Regions from separate parts of the Homo sapiens genome. Here region 2 is linked to region 1. Evidence: promoter capture Hi-C in 16 types of primary human blood cells and fetal thymus (Javierre and others, 2016). All regions are on one chromosome and are shown on one strand. The core of a region is centred on a gene start or on the middle of the fragment in contact, and the rest is flanking DNA. Distances in the headings are between cores, read along the strand shown.

Region 1 (5,139 bases), core at 1,433-3,932:
TAACATGTGTTTCAACGGCTAGGCGCGGTGGCTCACATCTGTACTTCTAGCACTTTGGGAGGCCGAGGCAGACGGATCACCTGATGTCAGGAGTTCAAGACCAGCCTGGCCAGCATGGAGAAATCCCATCTCCACTAAAAATACAAACGTTAGCTGGGTGTGGTGGTGGATGCCTGTAATCCCAGCTACTCAGGAGGCTGAGGCAGGAGAACTGCTTGAATCCAGGAGGCGGAGGTTGCGGTGAGCCGAGATTGTGCCATTGCACTCCAGCCTGGGCAACAAGAACGCAACTCCGTCTCAAAAAAATAAAATAAAATGTGTTTCAGTGGAGTGGGTAGGATGGTGGGTAGTAATTTAAATGACTCCTTTGTGAAAGGCCACTGTTGAAGAGTGATTGCTGCAGCATCATTCATAGGAGCAAAAACCAAAAGTGAACCATTATAGACACAGAAATGAACAAATCAGTGCATCTGCACCTAGGACGTCACCCAAACATCAGAAGGATGAATCTGACTTCCAGCAGCTAAGAGAGATTTCCATGAAGTACTAATAAGAAAAGCACGATGCAGGCCAGGCACAGTGGCTCATACCTGTAATGCCAACACTTGAGGCCAAGGTGGGAAGATCGCTTGAGCCCAGGAATTTGAGACCAGCCTGGGCAACATGGTGAAACCCCATCTGTACAAAACATACAAAAAATTATCTGGGTATGGTGACACTCCCCTGTAGTCCCAGCTACTCAAGAGGGTGAGATGGGAGGATTACCTGCATCCAGAAGTTTGAGGCCGTAGTGAACTGTAATCACAACACTGCACTCCAGGGCCTGGGTGAGAGAATGAGACCTTGTCTCAAAAAAATAAATAAATAAAAAAACCAAGATGCAGAAAAGGGTGCACACTATGATGCCAATTTTTATAAAAGAATGAAAAAATAGCCTGGGCACAATGGCTGACGTCTGTAATCCCAGCTACTCGGGAGACTGAGGCACGAGAATCGCTTGAACCCAGGAGGTGGAGGTTGCAGTGAACTAAGACTGTGCCATTGCACTCCAGCCTAGGCAAAAGAGTAAGACTCCATCTCAAAAAAAAAAAAAAAAAAAAAAAAAAAAAAAGTTACCACCATCAGCGATGGAACAAAATGACATCCATCACACACCTCCTGATCCGATACATGCAGGGCACAATGCTTCAGTAGTATTATTGCCAAAAAAATACATGATCTGAATCTAATCATAAGGAAACAGACAAACCCACATTACAGGATATTCTACAAAATAACTGGGTTTTTTTTTGCTTTTATTTTTGAGAGTCTCACTCTGTCACAGGCTGGAATGCAGTGGCTCAATCTCAGCTCACCGCAACCTCCACCTCCCAGATTCTGATGATTCTCATGCCTCAGCCTCCTCAGTAGCTGGGATTATAGGTGCACGCCACCATGCCCAGCTAACTTTCGTATTTTTAGTAGAAACAGGATTTCTCCATGTTGGCCAGGCTGGTCTCAAACTCCTTGGCCTCAAGTGCTTTCCGCCCGCCTTGGCTTCCCAAAGTGCTGGGATTACAGGCGTGAGTCACCGCGCCTGGCCAAAATAAAATGCCATGTAAACCAAAGAAAGGCTAAGGAACTGTTAGAGATGAAAGGTGACTCAAGAGACCCAACAACTAAAGGCAATGCACGATTCTGAATTGAATCCGATTGGGAAAAAACAAAAATGCTGCAAGGGCTGTTATTTGGTGAAATTATGTAAAATTTGAACATGGACTCTATATTATTAGATAGCATATTAATGTTTTCTGCTTTTGATAACTGTATTGTGGTTATGAGAATGTCCTTGTTTCAGGAAATGTACACTGAAAAGTATTTAGGGGTAAAAGGGCATGATGTCTGTAATTCTCAAATGGTTTAACAAGTAACATGTATAATAACACAAATGTGGCAAAATGTTCACAATTAGTCTATCTGGACAAAGGGAAGTTCTTTGTAGTAGTCTTACAACTATTTATATATTTTTAATTATTTCAAAACTAAATATTTTGTAAGATAAATGTCTTTCACCAGGAGAAAGTGGTTCTATGTATGTTCATGAACAGAGGTAAAACGCCAAATGGGAAAAAAAGTGCTGGTTGCTGCCAACAGAGACCACCCAAAAGAAAAGGGCAAAAGCAAGAGGGGAGAGGCCAAGACAAGTACCATTCCTCCAACTCTGAAGGGAAGGAAGGGAAGGCTGAGATGTAAAACTCGGTTGATATTTAGAATTGGAGAACAGGTCAGATCAGAAGTCACATCCATCTGCCTCAATCTATTCCCTAAAGTTGACCTGTCCGGAGCTGACGGAAGAGGGGCAGGGCAAGGCAGGTGGGAGAGTACCATCCAGAACAGGGGTGAGAATTCAGAGCAGCCACTAGGGGAACATGCTAGGGATGAGAGGGGAACGAGTGGTTTGTACGAATTTGTAGAGGCAGATGACTTAAGGATACATGCATTGAAAGCCAGCCAGGACACAGATAAGAGCTGCTCTCCAGCCTTGGAGGTCAGGCAGAGGTCTTCAGCAGAGGTATCCAATCTTTTGGAGAGCAACTTTCACCTAAAACCCTCACTCACCCTGACTCAATTTGATCTCCTCAGTTAATCTTGCTGGCAAAGTCTGGCAAAGTGCTAACACTTTCCAACTCCCATCTCAACAAAGACATTGGCAGCTGTTCCCAGTCCAAGACAGCTCCTTTATGAAGTCGAGATGGAACTCTGGGTCTGCTGGTCATATTTAGAACTAGGGAAATGAGACAGAATTCCGTATGAAGAACATAAATGAAGCATCAGAACCCGTCCCACAAACCATAATCACAGAACCATTTTTCATCCAATTTGAAACATTTCTTTTATTGAAGAAGTTGAACTTACAGCAGACAGTGAAAGGAGTTACAGCACTCCAGGACAAACACAGACATAAAATAATACATAAAACAAGTAGCGGGAAACTGGAAGATGCCAGGGAGTCCTCTTATAAAAGCAGGGTTCACCAAAACCAGAAGGCCAACTGGCTCCAGGACAGCGAAAGGCACAGTGGCTCCTCTGCTCCTCTGCCTTCTGCCCCATTTGAAATGGGGGACTTACAAATCCAGACTTCAGGGCAGGCCTAGACTTGATGCAGCCACTGCAATCTTGGTCCATGGTGCAATTTGGCAGACAAGTTGGTGAAAGGTAAGTTGTCTCCAGAGATTTCAATCAGGGACGTGGCTTCCAGATGTTAAAAGATACCCAGCTAAGTCACAAGGAAGTGGATGTTTTCAAATGCTAAGTGACCACCAAACAAAACATTCTCCCTGGGCCTTCACCACTCAGAGAACACCAACATACAAAAACAAAAGTCTGTTCCCATTTCATCAATAATGGAGTTTTAAGGATTTTGTCATAGTGTAGAATATTAAGAATGGATGAATAAAAAGTCAAAAAAGGTGCAGAGGTCCTATAAATCAGGGTTTATTAGACTAGATATTAATAAATTGGAAGGGTTTAAAAAAAAAAAGGCTGTTGGCCCTACATATGACAGTTTCCCATTGTTTCTTAGCTTAGTATATTTATTTTCCAACACAATGTTAGCAATTCTTACAGCAGTTCTTGCATTTTTCCAATAACATTTTTATTAATCAAATGGTATATATTTTTCACTATAACCTATTTTCACTGATTAATACATTTATCAGTATTTTAATGTGGCCTAAAATATGCTAAATTCTGTCACAATAAATATGTTTTTCCCTCCCTGGGGAGAAACACAAGTAAAAAAAGGAAAATATTAAGATGCATTCCACTTTTTAGTTAAGGAAAAGTTCAGAAAACTCCCATCTTTTTAAAAAAGAATGAAAATATGATCCTAAGTAACTCAGGTTAGAAAAACAGTAACAGAGCCAGGCGCAATGGCTCACGCCTATAATCCCAGCACTTTGGGAAGCTGAGGCAGGAGGATCACTTGAGCCCAGGAGTCTGAGATCAGCCCAGGCAACATAGTGAGACCATGTCTCTATTAAAAAAAAAAAAAAATTAAAGAGAGAAAAAAACAGTAATAATAAAACAAGTGGGGAGGAGGACATTTAGAAGAAAAATCTAGATAAACCTCTGCACAAAAATAATTTTGGAAAAAAGTTAGAAGTCCTACCTGAGATTAATTCAGGCGTCACTGGCTAATGCTAAGGGAATTCTGATTGGAAGGCAGCAACTCAGGGGCCCAAGGACCACATTAACAGATGCAATTACCTGCCCTAGAGAAGGCGCTTCCTCACACTCCCACTTAGCTGCAATGCCAATACTGTCCTTTCAAGCTTCAACCCTGTGATTTTAAGATATCAAAACTTGTATCCTTCTTCAGCTCTATGTAATTTGTCAAAAATTTCAAGATGCAACTCTATAGCCAAAAAGAGAGCCTTTTACTTTTTCAAACAAAAATAAACAAGAGAAGTCACTGACTGCTAAAACTAGAAGGGACCCTCAAGATTGGTATCACAGGATCACACCTTCATCTGGCAGTAGGTTGAGGTCAGTAACTCAGCTCACATGACATTTAAAACCACACAACACTACCAGAGAGAGCTACAGGTTCAGATGCCAATGGTTTCAAAAAACCATGATTCAGGCCGGGTGCAGTGGTTCACGCCTGTAAACCCAGCACTTTGGGAGGCCGAGGCAGGTGGATCACAAGGTCAGGAGTTTGAGACCAGCCTGGCCAACATGGTGAAATCCTGTTTCTACTAAAAACACAAAAATTAGCCAGGCACGGTGGTGCGTGCCTGTAATCTCAGCTACTCGGGAGGCTGAGGCAGGACAATCGCTTGAATCTGGGAGGCGGAGGTTGCAATTAGCCAAGATCGCACCACAGCACTCCAGCCCGGGCGACAACAGCAACACTCCGTCTTGAAAAAAAAAAAAACAAAAAAACCACGATTCAAGAAAAAGGCAGATTCTCCTGTGTTCAGCAGCTACTTTAAAAAAAAAAAAAAAAAAAAAGGCACTTCTTGGCCAGGAGTGGTGGAGGACTGCTTGAGCCCAGGAGTTTGAGACCAGCCTGGGGAACATAGCCAGACCCTGTCTCTACAAAAATAAAATTAGCTGAGCAGTTCCAGCTCCTTGGGAGGCTGAGGTGGGAGAATC
Region 2 (5,039 bases), core at 2,285-4,784, 240 kb before region 1:
CAGTTTCCCAGTCCCAGTATGTGAGTAGCCAATGACCCCCATAGTTCAACAAGCAGCCTTCCCAGTAACATTCCTGAGACGCCCCAGAGAGCAAAGCAAGCTCAGTCTACTCTGTTTATAAAGTTGGGCAAGAAAACCTCCTAACTTGATGTGGTTCCCTAGGGGGGCAGATTCTGGGCTAGGAAGGAGGCTGGGGATGTCGATAAGAGCAACTTTAGCTGTATCTGCGCCAATGGAACTTTTCACAATAAGAATGTATTCCTGTAGTTCCTGTATCATTAAAAATAAATACATGTTTAAATATGAGTCAGGAAAGATCTCAATCATATGGGAAAACAATGGAGAAAAAGAGTTTAGAAGGAAATATGCTCAGATGTTGAGATTCATTGCCTCTGCGAGGTGAGTTTTTTTTAAATTGTTTTATATTTTCTAAAACTTGCACACACACAATGTTAATACATAATCGGAATTTTCATAGATAATCAGAAAAATAAAACAATCAGCCAAACAAGAAAGAAGCAAATAAGGAAGGTGCTGGAACTTTGGGGGCCACGTTTGGATTTGGAGGCTTTCATCGACACGCTTCAAAGGAAGTGCTCAGAAATACTATTGAGGTAGGATAGATGCACATCCAGCATGCCCAACAAGCCAGTATCCCCCAGTACCCAAGCCACAAGCTCCCAGAGAGGCACAGGCACCCGCTCTCACCGTTCATTGCGGGCATGAATGCCAGGTCAAAAATCTTCTCCACCAGCACCTCCATGAGGCCAATCTGCAGAGGAAGAAGGAGGACAGAGCCTGGGCAGGGGGTTTGCTCAGCTCCAGAGGGCCCCTTGGGTCTGCTCCCCTGGCTCAAGGTGGAGACACAGACCTGCTCTGGGAGAGTCTAGGTTCTGGCAGTCAGAACCCCTGAGACCCCAGAATTTCTCACCGGCAGCCTTAAGGTGCCCCCCATCAACTTGCACATTGTGCAGATGGGCAGACTGAGGCCCAGCATGGGTGGTGGCCCAAGGCCCCTATGAAGCAGGGATTGAGGGAGGCCTAGTTCCTCCCCTGGGAGGCACAGAGCACAGGTTTCAGGGTGGCCTGGCCCCGATGGCACTGTCATGGCATCACAGAAGTCCCAATGGCCCTGGAGCCAACACCCCAGGTTCCCATCCCAGCTCAGTCTCCGTGGGCCTCTGGGCAGGCTCCTTCACCTCTCTAACCCTCAGCTTCCTCAGCTGTAAAATGGGTCAGTGAGCTGAGTTTGCAAGGATGCGGTGAGGATGGTGGGTAGATCACGTAAAACTCCTGGCCTTGAGCCTTTTCATATGTTACCTCCCTTAACTTCTCTAAGCCTTGGTTTCCACATCTGAAAACAGGAGTGAGTAACCCTTGCCTCATAGGGTGGTTATAAAAATCAGACATAAGCCCCTATATGTAACATGCCTGATGTTCCAGTCTGCAGAGGGTGAGGGCATGGACTCACTTTCCGGCAGTGCCTCTTCCTAGCTCTGTTGCCTTGGGCAAGTCACTTGAGCTTACCTTCCTTATTTGGAAGAATGGGTGTAATAATAATACCCAAATCATAACACGGTGGTAAGGATTAAATGAGAAAACCTCATTAAAAGAGAAAAAAAAGCATAATTCAGTGCCTAGGGCCCATCTCGATAGCTTCATTAATTCATTAATTTTACACTGTCAGCCCCTTTCTTCACTTGGAGTCCAGAGATTTCAGTTCTAATCCCAACTCTGCCCCAACCAGCTGGGAAGCCTTGGGCAGTTTATCCTTATAAAATGAAGCTGGCAAGATCGGCTTCACAGGCTGTAGCTTTTTGGGTTAGAAAAGCTATAAAATTAGCAACACAATGAATGGGTTTGACTTTTTCTGCACATGTGGAGATCTCATCCAAGCTTGTCCCAGAAAGCTAGCAGATGCTTAGTTGTCAATTTATAAAAAGCGGAGGTGGGGGGGTGGGGAGGAAGGAGTGTTTCTGAAGCCTTAGGTGGGGGTGGGGCACCCAAGAGTGAACAAAGAGATAAAACAGGACCCAACGCTAGAATGTGAGCATCTCAGATTTCTGGACCCTTGGAAAAGCAGAATTCCACAACCCAGGGGCAAGAAGGGAGGTTAGAAATGAACTCAAATTGTATTCATTTTACAGATGGGGAAACTGAGGCTCAGAGTGGGTTGATATCGCTCAAGGTCACACAGGAGTCAGTGGGCTCCTAACTCCAGAAGGAAAGTGGTCCTGTAGGACAAGGCTGCCCACTGTGCCTCCCCACCCTGAAATGGAGCGATTTGGGCCAAGTGGCCCCCCATGGGGCAGCCAGTTAACATGGGACAGCACCCGAGGCAGAGTAGAAGGAGCTGTGAGTCTGTCCTCTGCCCCTCACTTGCCTTGTGGGCCTCAGTTTCTACATCTGTCCATCTGCAAAATGAGGGCTGATAGTGTTGACGGGAGCACTTTGGAATTCACAAACTCCCCATGCCCAGCCAGCCTCACAGGAACACCATTCCCGGAAGACACGTCCTGGGCTCCTTCCCAGAAGATCTTGCCCTGGGAACTAAACATGGTACTTACATCAAAGTTGCCCACGTTTGAGGTTCTGAGGTTGAGGCTGGTCCTGTAGACGAAGAAAACAGCCTGTGAGAAGCAGGGATTGCCTGAAAATCATAAGGCTCTTGCATTGCAACAAATTGTGAGAAGCCCCTCCACTATCCTCACGATCACTCTCCACCTGCAGGGATTTAATAAGAACAATGCTGGCTCTCACATGCTGAGCGCTAACTACACGTCGGACACCATGCTAAGGGCTTCATGCACCACACGGAGAAGGCTCAAATCATAGCTTTGCCACCTACTAGCTTTGTGACCTTAGTCAAGGTACTTTACCTTTCTATGCCTCAGTTTCTTCATCTGCAAAGTGGGTGGCTGCTAGGACTAAAGGGGATATTCCCATAAAGCGCTGCTCCAGAGCCCTGCCATAGGTGCATGAGTGATCACCATCACCTCGTGTAATCCTTCCAGCCCTCCAGTGGAGCAGGCTCCAGGGTAATTTACTGCAGCCACAGAGCCAGGGAGGGATAGCCTAGGCCTCGCACCCTGAACCTGCACTCTCACTGTTGTGCTGTTCTGAGATGGGAGGCTGAGGCCGGGGTTTGAGGTCTCGCTCTGCTCTATAAGGGCCTCCGTCTTGCTGCACCTGAATCTCAATACAGCTGACAGTCCTACCCGAGAGAGGCCAGACCGGGCTTGCCCGTGGGGCGGAAATCGTTCGGGGCTGTTCAGAAGCATCAGCTCGGTGTCCAGCAGGAGGGAAATAAAGGTACCTTCTAAGGAAACAAGACTCTCCGCTTGGGACATGTTTTCTTCCTTCCTGACTTCCTTACCCAGCCTCTCTCCCTCTCAGGCACCGCACCCCACAGTATCCGTGCCCTTTTCCTCTCTGCGAAGCTTGCCCATGCTGCTCTCCCTGCAGGAAATACCCAGCTCTTGCCCAGCTGGCCCCTACTCCTTATCCAGGCTGCAGGCTGAATCTTGCCTCCTTGGGAACTCCTGGATGTCTCTGATGTGCACTATATTAATCACGAGTAACTGCCATTGGTGGGCTTAAGAAATATTGGTTGTAAAAGAAAAGCTTACAATGATCTAGTCACATGCTAAAAATTTTACATATGACCTCATTTAATCTTGAAATGGAAATAATGATAGTACTTATTTCCATAGGCTTATATCAAGAATTAAAGGAAGGCCGGGTGCAGTGGCTCATGCCCATAATCCCAGAACTTTGGGAGGCCGAGGCAGGCAGATCACTTGAGCCCAGGAGTTCAAGACCAGGCTGGCCAACATGGCGAAACCCCGTCTCTACTAGAAATATAAAAATTAGTCTGGCGTGGTGGTGCATGCCTGTAATCTCAGCTACTTGGGAGGCTGAGGTAGGAGGATCGCTTGAGCTGGGGAGGTCAAGGCTGCAGTGAGCCGTGACTGTACTCTAGCCTGGGCAACAGAGCGAGCTCCTGGCTCAAAAGAAAAGAAAAAGAAAGAATTAAATGAAGACACACCTAGGACTTAGCCAAATACCTGGCACACGGAAAGCATCCAATGAATAATAATTATTCTTTTTATGAATCTTACGAGGTAGTGACTATTATCCCCATTTTCAGATGAGAAAACTGAGGCTCAGAGTGAAGTTGGTTGGCCAATATCACACAGTCAGTCAGTGGTCACATCAGGATTTGAACCCATATTGCTTGGCTCCAAAGCGCATGATTGTACCCATCCAATGCAGCAGGTCACATGAACCTGGGTTGGCTCACAGCCCCTCTATGTACTTGCTGGGTGGCCCTGGGTAAGTAAATCCACTGTTTCCAGCCCTAGTTTTCTCCCTACAAAGGGAGAATAATAGCCCTGACTTCCACTGGGACCATCAGAGGGGAGAAACAAGATAATACGTACACTTCAAGTACATAGAGCAGAGCCTGGTATGTCATCATCACCAGCATCCTCCTCCTCCTCCTCGTCCTCCTCCTCATCATCATCACTGTTACTTAGAGACAGGGTCTTGCTCTGTTGCCCAGGCTGGAGTGCAGTGGCACAATCATAGCTCACCACAACCTCAAGCTCCTGGGCTCCTGCCTCAGCCTCCTGAGTAGCTGGGATTACAGGCACATGGATACCAAGCCCGGCTAATTTTTTCTAGGACTACACGTGTGTACCTATGCCCAGCTAATTTTTCTATTTTTGTAGAGATGGTGTCTTGCTATGTTTCTCAGTCTGGTCTCAAACTCCTGGCCTCAATCAGTCCTCCAGCCTCGGCCTCCCAAAGCACTGAGACTACAGGCATGGGCTACTGTGCCCACACCCCAGCATCATTATTACTGACTGTTGATTTTGGCAGTAGTTTCTTTCTAAGTTCACGGCTTCACCCACCTTGCCTGGCTTGTGACAGTGGTAATGGTAGGCATGAGCCATCGTCACCTTTGCAGCCCCTTGGGTTTACCCAGCCCTGATGGCCACACAGGAGACCTCTACCCGCTCCCTGGTGGCTCCTCC

The links. The method cuts DNA at HindIII sites, captures the fragments that hold promoters and counts their contacts. A CHiCAGO score of 5 or more calls a contact.
Region 2: a fragment that was not itself captured here is called in contact with the fragment with the promoter of EFCAB8 in region 1 in 1 of 17 cell types (megakaryocytes); the score reaches 5.2 in megakaryocytes.

What each region holds. Positions count from the first base shown.
Region 1 is chr20:32,856,466-32,861,604 of GRCh38, reverse strand. EFCAB8 (EF-hand calcium binding domain 8) reads right to left here and starts at 2,682. Exons shown (of 27, transcript NM_001143967.2): 1 at 2,599-2,682. LOC119746555 (a long non-coding RNA gene) reads right to left here and starts at 4,973. Exons shown (of 1, transcript NR_171378.1): 1 at 2,854-4,973. RefSeq lists an enhancer at 2,003-2,815. The HindIII fragment of the contact is 6,288 bases long and covers 1-4,315 here.
Region 2 is chr20:33,100,543-33,105,581 of GRCh38, reverse strand. BPIFB4 (BPI fold containing family B member 4) reads right to left here. Exons shown (of 18, transcript NM_182519.3): 15 at 2,568-2,610; 16 at 709-772. Among named protein-coding and RNA genes, the nearest start is that of BPIFB4, 23 kb to the right of the region's middle. The HindIII fragment of the contact is 184 bases long and covers 3,443-3,626 here.